Linked DNA regions of Homo sapiens: region 2 is linked to region 1. Evidence: promoter capture Hi-C in 16 types of primary human blood cells and fetal thymus (Javierre and others, 2016). All regions are on one chromosome and are shown on one strand. The core of a region is centred on a gene start or on the middle of the fragment in contact, and the rest is flanking DNA. Distances in the headings are between cores, read along the strand shown. Region 1 holds the start of PSMC6 (proteasome 26S subunit, ATPase 6). Region 2 overlaps DDHD1 (DDHD domain containing 1).

Evidence for each region. The method cuts DNA at HindIII sites, captures the fragments that hold promoters and counts their contacts. A CHiCAGO score of 5 or more calls a contact.
Region 2: a fragment that was not itself captured here is called in contact with the fragment with the promoter of PSMC6 in region 1 in 1 of 17 cell types (non-activated CD4 T cells); the score reaches 5.2 in non-activated CD4 T cells.

What each region holds. Positions count from the first base shown.
Region 1 is chr14:52,705,158-52,711,057 of GRCh38, forward strand. PSMC6 (proteasome 26S subunit, ATPase 6) reads left to right here and starts at 2,043. Exons shown (of 14, transcript NM_002806.5): 1 at 2,043-2,147; 2 at 3,152-3,231; 3 at 3,326-3,365; 4 at 3,607-3,659. The coding sequence starts at 2,063. RefSeq lists enhancers at 1,594-1,703, 1,724-1,783, 2,084-2,333, 2,354-2,403. The HindIII fragment of the contact is 4,351 bases long and covers 1,342-5,692 here.
Region 2 is chr14:53,104,707-53,110,029 of GRCh38, forward strand. All of the region lies in intron 1 of DDHD1 (DDHD domain containing 1), which reads right to left. Among named protein-coding and RNA genes, the nearest start is that of DDHD1, 46 kb to the right of the region's middle. RefSeq lists an enhancer at 4,310-4,609. The HindIII fragment of the contact is 2,069 bases long and covers 408-2,476 here.

The DNA of each region.
Region 1 (5,900 bases), core at 793-3,292:
CCCGGGAGGTGGAGGTTGCAGTGAGCCGAGATCGCGCCACTGCACTCCAGCCTGGCGACAGAGCAAGACTCCAACTCAAAAAAAAAAAAAAAAAAAAAAAAAAAAAAGAAAAATAGAATGGAATATTCACACAATACCCATGAGAATTGTTCCTAATAAATTTGAAGGCATCCTTTATGTGACTTTGGGTCATTAATTTACAAAAATTTGTACTTTATTTGTATATTTAGGATGTATATATTTAAACTCAAACATTCATGGCCATTGGATAAGGTGAGACCAAATGGAATCTATTTGGAGAATTTTACTCATGTTTTTTGGACAACAATTAATTGTCCCCAGGAACAATGATAGCAAGAGGTATAGCAATGAGGACCTGTAATGCAAAAATTGGAGTCATTACTACCCTTAAAATAAATATCTATTCAAAAGAACACTATTGAGTACATGCCATGTGGCAGATGTTGTGTTTAGGCACATTATCCTATTTAATACTCATGACAACCCCATTAGATAAGTGCAATTATTATGATCATTTTACAGAGATATTGAGGGAGTATGTAATTTTCCCCAAATCACAAAAATCTGAAAGTTGGCCAGGCGTCGTGGCTCACGCCTGTAATCCCAACACTTTGGGAGGCTGAGGCGGGCGGATCACTTGAGGTCAGTAGTTGGAGACCAGCCTGGCCAACATGGTGAAACCCCATTCCTACTGAAAATACAAAAATGAGCCGGGCGTGGTGGCGGGCGCCTGTAATCCCAGCTTCTCAGGAGGGTGAGGCACGACAATCGCTTGAACCCGGGAGGCAGAGGTTGCAGTGAGCCAAGATCGCACCACTACACTGCAGCCTGGGTGACAGAGTGAGACACAGACTCAAAAAAAAAAAAAAAAAAAAAAAAATCTGGCCGGGCGCAGTGCCTCACACCTGTAATCCTAGCACTTTGGGAGGCTGAGGAGGGTGGATCACCTGAAGTCAGCAGTTCGAGACCAGCATGGCCAACATGGCGAAACCCCGTCTCTACTAAAAATACAAAAATTAGCCGGTTGTGGTGGCGCACACCTGTAATGCCAGCTACTCCGGAGGCTGAGGAAGGAGAATTGCTTGAACCCGGGAGGTGGAGGTTGCAGTGAGCTGAGATCGCGTCACCGCTCCAGCCTGTGCGGCAGGAGCAAGACTCCATCTCAAAAGTAAATAAATAAATACATAAATCTGAAGGTTCTATCAGACTTCAAAGTTCCTGCCTCAGCCTACTTCAGCATCTTTATCTTGTACCCCACATCTCTACAACCCACCCCCTACTGGTCTCATTGGCCTCCTTTCTGTTCCTGGAAGTGAGTCAAGCTTTCTACCCACAACCCCCACCCCACTCCACTCCAGGACTTGCACTGTTTGTTTAGGTTTTCTTCAGTTGTTGCAAGGCTGGCTCCTTCTCATCTCAGATATCTGTTCTAGATTAATTCTTCCCACCATACTTCTCACCGTGTTTTAATTCCTTCACAGTATTTGTTAAACTCTGAAGTTTTTTTTATTATTATTTCCTATCAAATGATAAGCAGATCTACCTTTAATACCTCATTCACTGACTGAATGGATGAATAAAACTGTCTACTTCTCCAGCACGTGGAGGTCTTGGACAGTACTGTGTTATAACAAAGGCCATCTGTGTTGTGTCGACAGGCCATCGGAACTCCTTTGAGGTATTACACATTTCCTACTTCACTTCCATCTCAGTTTATTACAGAGCCTTTTATACTTCCGGGACAGCAGTGACTTAATACTGAGGCCTCTCAGGGGAAGACCGGGATAACTGAGTCCTGCTTTACCTATCTCGGCTTGCAAGAAACGGTATAGGTGGAGGCCTCTTTCAGTGTATGCCGGCGCTCTAGGTGAACCGAGACATAGAGGTGGAAGTGGAGTAGAAAGACGGGGCCAACCGGAAGGGGAGGGCTCATGGGCGAACCCACCCCTCCAGGCAGGGTTTCGCCCCTCGCCCCGCCCCTTCCCCCGCCCGGACGGCCATGGCCATTCCCGGCATCCCCTATGAGAGACGGCTTCTCATCATGGCGGACCCTAGAGATAAGGCGCTTCAGGACTACCGCAAGAAGTTGCTTGAACACAAGGAGATCGACGGCCGTCTTAAGGAGTGTGAGTGCACCTTTCTTTCCATTTAATCAAGTGCCTCGACTCGCTTCTGCCTCTGACAAAGCAGAAGCCTTTCGCCGAGCCCGGCAACCGAGCCTTAGAGATGACCAGGCCTAGGGCCAGGGACAAGGCGCTTTGTCATCCGGCCCTGAGCTTGTGGAGCAGCACTCCTTCGGGTGTAGAAATGGCCCAGTCCAGCCCGGGTGACAGAACATCGGCGGCCTTGAGGTGAAAATGAAAAAGAAGTAGAGGAGGAGTGGGGAAGTGGGCCGAGGATGTTTCCCAGGTTAGGGTGCAAGAAGGGCAGTCTTGGTGGAGTCCCGGGACTTGGAGAGGGGAAGGCGCTTGAGTCAAGTAAGCTCAAACAAGAGATGAGACTCAGGGAGTCGGCTTGTTCTTGGAGTCGAAAGACGGCCGCGGAGCTTAAGAGAGAAGTGTTCCAGTTGTCATAATAACCCATATCGTCTTGTGTTTCGTGTTGTACTGTATCAGGCATACAAATTTCCCTTACCTCCTGAGTGCTTAACTTTTTTTTCCAGTGCATTTTCATTGAAAAGCATGAGTAGTTTAATTAAATGGAGGACCATAATTACATGATTCTGTGGAGAACTGCATTTGTTGACTTTATTTAGGGTAGAATGTCAGAGAACAATCCACGTGGGTAGGTGAAGAGGTGAGGAAGGGTCTAAGTGATTATCATTCGGATTTGTAGTCGCAAATCCTAAGTGTCAGGGTGTCAATATCTTCTAAGACTATAACTTAAGATGTGCTTAAACAAGTATTGCCGATCAACAAAGTAAAAGTATGGTGCTTTCTCTGTAACATTTTGTTGTTATACATGCCACCTACTCATTACAAACAGCATTATTTCTTTTATGGTTTGAAACAGTGGATGTGAAACTTAGGTAAAGTGAAGTAGACTTACGTAAACAGTAAAGTGAGACGTAGCGACTTAAACACACTAAGATTACTGTTCAATTAAAAATGTTCAAATTGTATTATTTCAGTAAGGGAACAATTAAAAGAACTTACCAAGCAGTATGAAAAGTCTGAAAATGATCTGAAGGCCCTACAGAGTGTTGGGCAGGTAGGTGATGGAGTTTGGGGAATAGGGGGTGATGGTAATTTGCTTTTTTATTTAGCTGTTGCCAAAAAGTAATGCTTTTTATTTTCTTCCTTAGATCGTGGGTGAAGTGCTTAAACAGTTAACTGAAGAAAAATGTGAGTGATGAATTAGCTTATTAATTAGTAAAGAAACAGTCCACCTCTCTCTCACTTTTGAAATGCTTATTATTTTAATGACAATAATGCAGAGAGAGAGAGTATTTTTGAATAGACTTAAGTTTTCCTTCAACTAATGTCTCCTTGGAGGACAGAAATACAACTAAACCCTCTGTCAACGTGGGTATGTATTTTTTTACTTTCTATTTTTCAATTAGTTCTTTTATGTTTTTTCTTCTAGTCATTGTTAAAGCTACCAATGGACCAAGATATGTTGTGGGTTGTCGTCGACAGGTAATACTTTATATTTGTATAGTGCCTGATGATTGACAAAGCAGTTTCATGTAAGTTATTGTCTCTAATTCTTGAGGCAAGCAGGTGGAGCATTTATGCCCATAACTCACAAGGATGATTTGTTCAGACATAGCTAGTTATTAACAAAGCCTGAATTCAAACCATGGGCTTTGACTCCTGGCATTCCGTACTTTCTACTGTATTACATTGTCTCAGTCAGATCTGTTAATAGCCACTTAGAAATAAAAGTATTTTAGAACTGGAAAACAGACATTTTATTTTAATGTCATTTTTAAAGAGGACTTAAAAGTGTTAGATATCATCAGTTACCTGTGTTTATATTTAGACATTCAGAACTGTTACTTATGGACTGTACCATGGCCTAAGTTAATTTTGTATGAGGTCATTTAGATTAGGGTAGGGCAAGTTGAAATAATTCTAAATTTTATTTTACAGTTATCAAAGATGCCAACAAATGACCTCAAGTCATTCAGTAGTGTCTGAAATCAATTTATGTATTATTCTTTAGGAAGTGTCCTTAGATAATTCTTTTAAATTCATTGGAAGAGTTTTCTCTGTTTAATTGTCATTTCAGGTTCAGGTTTTAAAACATTCACAGAACATGGCTGTAAGGGAGAATTTAATCCAGGAACTATAAATCTCCTATTAGGATTTTGCCTAGTATATAAGCGGTTGACATTTTCTAAGTCAAAATATTAGATACCTAAACTGACAAGGGATTTTCATGTCCCTTTCAGGGCTCTGTGGATGCCGAAAGTTGGCATTTCTAAGATATTTCAGGTTGCATGAGGACAAGACTGTATTTGAAGACTAAAAAACATTAGAAAAGCCGAAGTATATATAAGTTGAGTATCCCTTATCCAAAATGCTTGAGCCAGAAATGTGTTTTAGATTTTGGCTTTTTTTTTTTCAGGTTTTAGAATATTTGTGTTGTACTGGTTGAGCATCCCTAATTAAAAAAAATCAAAAGTTTGAAATGCTCCGATGAGCATTTTCTTTGAGCATCATGTCAGCATTCAAAAAATTTCACATTGTGGAGCATTTTGGATTTTCAGATTAAGAATACTCAGCCTGTATTTCCTATAGATGTAAACATTGAAATAGCTTCATATTGATTTCTCCTCTTATTTTTTCAAGTAACCTCACTTCTTAGCCGTTTTTTCCTTAATTGTTATATTAATCCTAGTGTTTTGCCTATCTTCCTAAATTTGAAGCTCTTTGTAAAATCCTGTGACAAGTGGTCAGTAATTTATATGATTCCGAAATTGTATTGGCACGCAGTTTTTTAAACTATTAAAAAGTAACTTGGGTCGGGCGGGGTGGCTCATGCCTGTAATCCCAGCACTTTGGGAGGCTGAGGTGGGCAGATCACGAGGTCAGGAGATCAAGACCAGCCTGACCAACATGGTGAAACCCCGTCTTTACTAAAAAATACAAAAAAAAATTAGCCGGGCATGGTGGCACACACCTGTAATCCCAGCTACTTGAGGCTGAGGCAGGAGAATTGCCTAAACCAGGGAGGCAGAGGTTGCTGTGAGCCAAGATGGCGCCACTGCACTCCAGCCTGGGCGACAGAGTGAGACTCCGTACTCCATCTCAAAAAAAAAAGTAACTTTATCTTTGAAAAGTAACAACATCCTGAGAGTGAGGCAGATCTAGTAGATTCTAATTTTAGCCAGATAAGCCAAGAAATTATTTAGTATGATTCAACCTAATGTGTAATGTGTTCAGCATGTGCCTGTCATGTAGCAAAGGCATGAGTGATGGTTGCTGGGTTTTGGGGCTTTAAATTTAAAGCATTTTAATAAAAATCTCTAAGGGGAAACCGTGCATTTTTCTCTACTCTCATGAGCATTTAACACATTCTTCCCAGAAGCTGTACATTTCAAAATAAATCTGATGAGCACACCTTTAAAATGCTTCCCTTTCCTTTCCCTAAAATGTTCACTAAGGGATTTTTCTATAAATGCTTTGGTAGCAATTCCCAAAGTCACTGTACCATTGCTGCCTCAAGCTTTGTGTGTTAGTCATTTCACATTTTACACTGAGATTACACAAAGGGGCATGCTTTTAAGGAGCAGGTGGAAATCACTTTGAATTACTTATTTTATAAGCCATTTTGTTAGCATAGAGTTTATAATCTGATATTTGTGTTCTCTCTGGAGGGTAAAAATGAGTGTTTGGCTTCTAAATATTAAACTCTCGTTAGAGTGTTATTCC
Region 2 (5,323 bases), core at 192-2,691, 400 kb after region 1:
AATAAACTACAACTGTCAGCTAAACTATCTTGAATTCTTTAAAACAATTTTTTAATAAAGCAAAAATAAAATAAAAATAACAAAACCCTAAAAGTAAAAAGCAAAATGAAACAAATGGATCTAATTATGTAGAATGCTGGTGGTTTAATCATATAAAGAGAAATTATTTCAAGTGAATTTAAAACTCCGTCATTTGTACATACATATTTGGAAATAAAATATGGAGAAAAAGAACTGCAAACATCTTAAACCTTTTGCAATAACCATATTGTTAGTAATACTATTTGTATTACTAATTTGAAACTGTAGGTTAAGATGAATGTATTAATTTTATTAATATCATTAGGAACCTAGATTTTAAGCATAAGACAAAAGAGATACAAATATAAAAATCAAATAAATAAAAAAGCTTGTAATCATAAATTTTAATTAAAAACTTCAGTATGGACTAGTGATGTATTTTCTCTTTGTAAAAATGTCCTAGTAAAGGCCTAGAACTGAAGACAAACCCAGTATAAGTGAACACTCCTAATATAAAGATTGTGAACTATAAATATCATTTCCCATTAAAAGAAACCAAGAGTCCTTGAAAAAAATGGCTAACTTCAGGTTTGAGACAAGAAATATACTAGATGATCTTGAGACATCTTGTCATACCAGATTTGTACTGTGATGTATTTAAAATTTTCTATTATGTGTTTCTATTGCTACTTGCATTCTCCTATATTCTGCTATAGTGATTCTGGTATATTTAGGTGTTTGCTGTGTCATTTGGTACCTAGATACTAAAAAATATTATAACTTCATTGTGAATTATGGCTTTAACCATTATAAATATACTCTGTCATACTGAATAGTTTTTGCCTGGATTCTACTTTGTTCAGCAAAATGGAAACTCCTGATTTCTTATTTTTTCCATTTGCCTGTAATATCATATACATTCCTTTATTTTTGATGGTTGGAATCACTGTTTTATATGTCTCTTGTGTAAGGCATAGAATTGGGTTTTGCTTTATAAAGCCATTTGAACACCTTTTTATTTTAATAGATGAGTTAAGCCCATTTATGTTTACTAATATGATTGACATATTTGAACTCAACTCTATCTTTATAGTTACCATGTTTGTTATTCATACGTATTCTTTTTTTTCCTTTATGTGGTATTTCTGCTATTTTTTTATTTTTTGTACTTTCTTTTGGTAGTTAGGAAAATTTTAATTTTTTGTTCCAGTGGTTCTCTCTCTCTCTCTCCTGTGGTGGTGGTGGTGGTGGTGTGTGTGTATGTGTGTGTGTTTTAGAGTAACCCAAATCGACTTTTTGCCTACTTTACCTTTTATTATCTGGTCAATCCATTTAAAAGGTATTGTATGACTCTCACTTATTACCTATATTGTGGAGAATAATCTTAATTCTTTGTTCACCCACTTATTTTTAGTTTTATTCTTTTTACTTTGTCAGAACATATAAAAATTACATCTATGTCCCCAACACTGTTTTAAGTCTTGGATCTACATTTAAATATAGTAAATTATCACCACATATTTCCTAAATTCTTGTGTGTTCAAACTGTTTATCTGATACTCTAAAGACAGGTTGGCTAGCTTGTGCTTTATTTCTTTGAGTTTTTAAAAATGGTGCTCTACTGTAGCCTTCCTTTGAATATTGTTCTAGGCCAGGTGCAGTGACTCATGCCTGTAATCCCAGCATTCTGAGAGGCCGAGCCAGGTGGATCACTTGAGGCCAGGAGTTCAAGACCAGCCTAGCCAACACAGCAAAACCCCAGCTCTACTAAAAATATAAAAATTAGCTGGGCATGGTGGTGCATGCCTATAATCCCAGCTACAGGAGGCTGAGGCATGAGAATTACTTGAACCTGGGAGGCGGAGGTTGCAGTGAGCCAAGATCATGCCCCTGCACTCCAGCCTGGGTGACAGAGTGAGACCAAAAAAAAATATATTGTTCTTAAGGAATCTGATGTCAGCCTGATTTTATTAATAATATAATCTTTTTTCCCCTCTCAAGAGGCCCAGGAAAAAAGTCTTTAAAATCTAATAGTTTTACTAGGCTATGACTCAGAGCTGTTCTGTATTAATCTGTCCATGATGGGGCCTTTTAATATGTAAAATTTGAAATTTCCTATTATTTCTGAAAAGTGTTGAGTTATGGTTTAATTAGTTCTGTTCTAGTGATTTGCTTTTCTTCTTTAGGGACTCCAATTTTAAGTATGTTAGGTCTTCTTTTGCCTGTATTGAATTTAAACTACTTTTTACATTCTCTTGGTTGTTTTCCTTCCTTTTATCAATGGCTCTTATTAGATTTTTATTTGAATCTATTCTCCACGGGCACCTTGTAATTAATATACAGTAGTCCCCCCTTATCTGTGGGGGATACATTCCAAGACCCCCACTGGATGCCTGAAGCCTTAAATAGTATTGAACCTTATAATGTTTTTGCAATATATACATATTTATGATAAAGCTTACTTTATAAATTAGGCACAATAAGAGATTAACAACAACTAATAATAAAATCCAACAATTATAACAATGTGCTAGCATCACCACTCTTGCGCTTTGGAGCCATTATTAAATAAAATAAAGGTAACTTGAACACAAGCACTTCAAAACCACCACAGTTGATCTGATAACCAAGACAGCTACTAAATGACTAATGGACCAGTGGCATAAACAGCTGCATATCCTAGACAAAGGAATAACTCCCATCCTGGGCAGGATGGAGCAGGATGGCTGGAGACTTCATCACACCAATCAGAAAAGCATCCAATTTAAAACTTGTAATTGTGGCTGGATACAGTGGCTAATGCCTGTAATCCCAGTACTTTGGGAGGCCGAGGCAGGAGGATCACCTGAGGTCAGGAGATTGAGACCAGACTGGCCAACATGGTGAAACCTCATCTTTACTAAAAATACAAAAATTAGCCAGGCATGGTGGTACACACCTATAGTCCCAGCTACTTGGGAGGCTGAGGCAGGAGAATCACTTGAACCCGGGAGGCGGAGGTTGCAGTGAGCTGAGATCGTGCTGAGAGACAGGACTAGCTGGATTTTCTAGGCTGACTAAGAATCCCTGAGCCTAGCTGGGAAGGTGACTGCATCCACCTTTAAACACGGGGCTTGCAACTTAGCTCACACCCGACCAATCAGGTAGTAAAGAGAGCTCACTAAAAAGCTAATTAGGCAAAAACAGGAGGTAAAGAAATAGCCAATCATCTATTGCCTGAGAGCACAGCGGGAGGGACAATGATCAGGATATAAACTCAGGCATTCAAGCCAGCAACAGCTACCCTCTTTGGGTCCCCTCCCTTTGTATGGGAGCTCTGTTTTCACTCTATTAAATCTTGCAACTGCACTCTTTTCTGGTCCGTGTTTGTTACGGCTCGAGCTGAGCTTTCATTCCCCATCCACCACTGCTGTTTGCCACCATCGCAGACCTGCCGCTGACTTCCATCCCTCCGGATCCGGCAGGGTGTCTGCTGTGCTCCTGATCCAGCGAGGCGCCCACTGCTCTTCCCGACTGGGCTAAAGGCTTGCCATTGTTCCTGCACAGCTAAGTGCCCGGGTTCATCCTAATTGAGCTGAACACTAGTCACTGGGTTCCAAGGTTCTCTTCCGTGACCCACGGCTTCTAATACAGCTATAACACTCACTGCATGGCCCAAGATTCCACTCCTTGGAATCCGTGAGGCCAAGAACCCCAGGTCAGAGAACGTGAGACTTGCCACAAGCTTGGAAGCAGCCCGCTGCCATCTTGGGAGCTCTGGGAGCAAGGACCCCTGGTAACAGTGCCATTGCACTCCAGCCTGGGTGACAGAGCAAGACTCTGTCTCAAAAAAACCAAAACCAAAAAACAAAAACAATTTAAAATTGCTTATTTCTGGAATTTTCCATTTAATATTTTTGGACTCTAGTTGACTGTGGCTAACTGAAACTGCAGAAAGCGAAACCACAGCTATAAAGCTGGATTACTGTAGTCTCCCGAGATGGCTTTGCCTTTCTCTTCAATTTCTTTCCTGTGTTCAATCAAATTTTGTTGCACTTCTTCCTTTTTCACTTCTTTTCATGTCAGAGTTTAGATTTCTGCTTCTAAGTTTGTGGTTTTTGTAGTATGTTCACAGATTTGTTTGAGAATATTTTATTTGGTTGGAGCACTGAGATGCCCTTTCCCTTTGCATTTGCTTTTTTGGGGAGAAGTTTTATCAACTGAAACACTTTCTTTCAAATTTTTATATTCCTCTTAAAGTAGCTTTGTGTAGCATTTGATTCATTTCTATTCTTGAGCATAGGGTTCTTGGGTTCTTAGTTTAAGAGCATTCACTTCTGCAGATTAGTAAAGAGGAGCGCCTATAATGGACGGTGTTACGGTGGAGTTGTTGGGTGGGGGTTGGGTTGCCGTGCCTTGTTTCTCTTTCATTTCTCTAGAAGCCTCAATTTTATCCCCACTTCCTTCCTTTCCTCTTGCTGCCATGCCTCCAAGAGGTGTCGTTCTTTTCTCTGTCTCTTCTAGGAGCAATGCTACTCTGAAGCTGCTGCTTGTGGCCCCTCTCACTTTCATACAGCTTCCTGTAGCTAGTTCTATAAATTACCAAGTCCTAGGCCTGTCTTTGTACCTGGCAACGCTGAGGACTTTTTCTGAGGGTGATGTTGCCTGTGGTTTATTTTAACCTCTGTTCCCTTCTCCTATTTTCTCAGTCTCTTAAGCCTTTCCTTACCCAGCTCTTCCCACTCACAGGTTTGTAGCAGCAACAGGAACCATTGTAATGTGCTATTTCCTTGTATAAAGGTAATTAAAAATTCATGGTATCATCTGTCTTGCGGTAGTGCTGAAAGTGTCAGTTATGTATGGTTTCTGTGTATATATATGTGTGTGTGCATGTGTGTGTGGAGTCCTTTTGTTCTTACAGCTTTTGGGGAGGACATGCGGAGAGATTTAGATTTGGACAGTTGCCATTATCTTCCAGACCCAGAAGCTCATCTCATTTAACAATAATCTTAAAAGGCTATCATTCTCCCAACTTTACAAATGAATAAGCTAAGTCTTAGTGAAACTAAATAATTTGCTTAAAGGCACATAGCTACTAGTAATGTGAGAACCAAGATTCCAACCAAAGTTTGAGTTCAAAGTTCATTCAAGCTCTTTCTACTACATAATACAACCTATACTCTCAAATACAAAATGCATTTTCAGCTCTCATTTAGTTCTCACCTCCCAAGCAGTAGAGGTTCTTTACTGGTGTTCAACCACAAATAGTCATGAAACCCTTAGCTTCCTGGAAAAAAATTGAACAAAACAAAACACACACCCA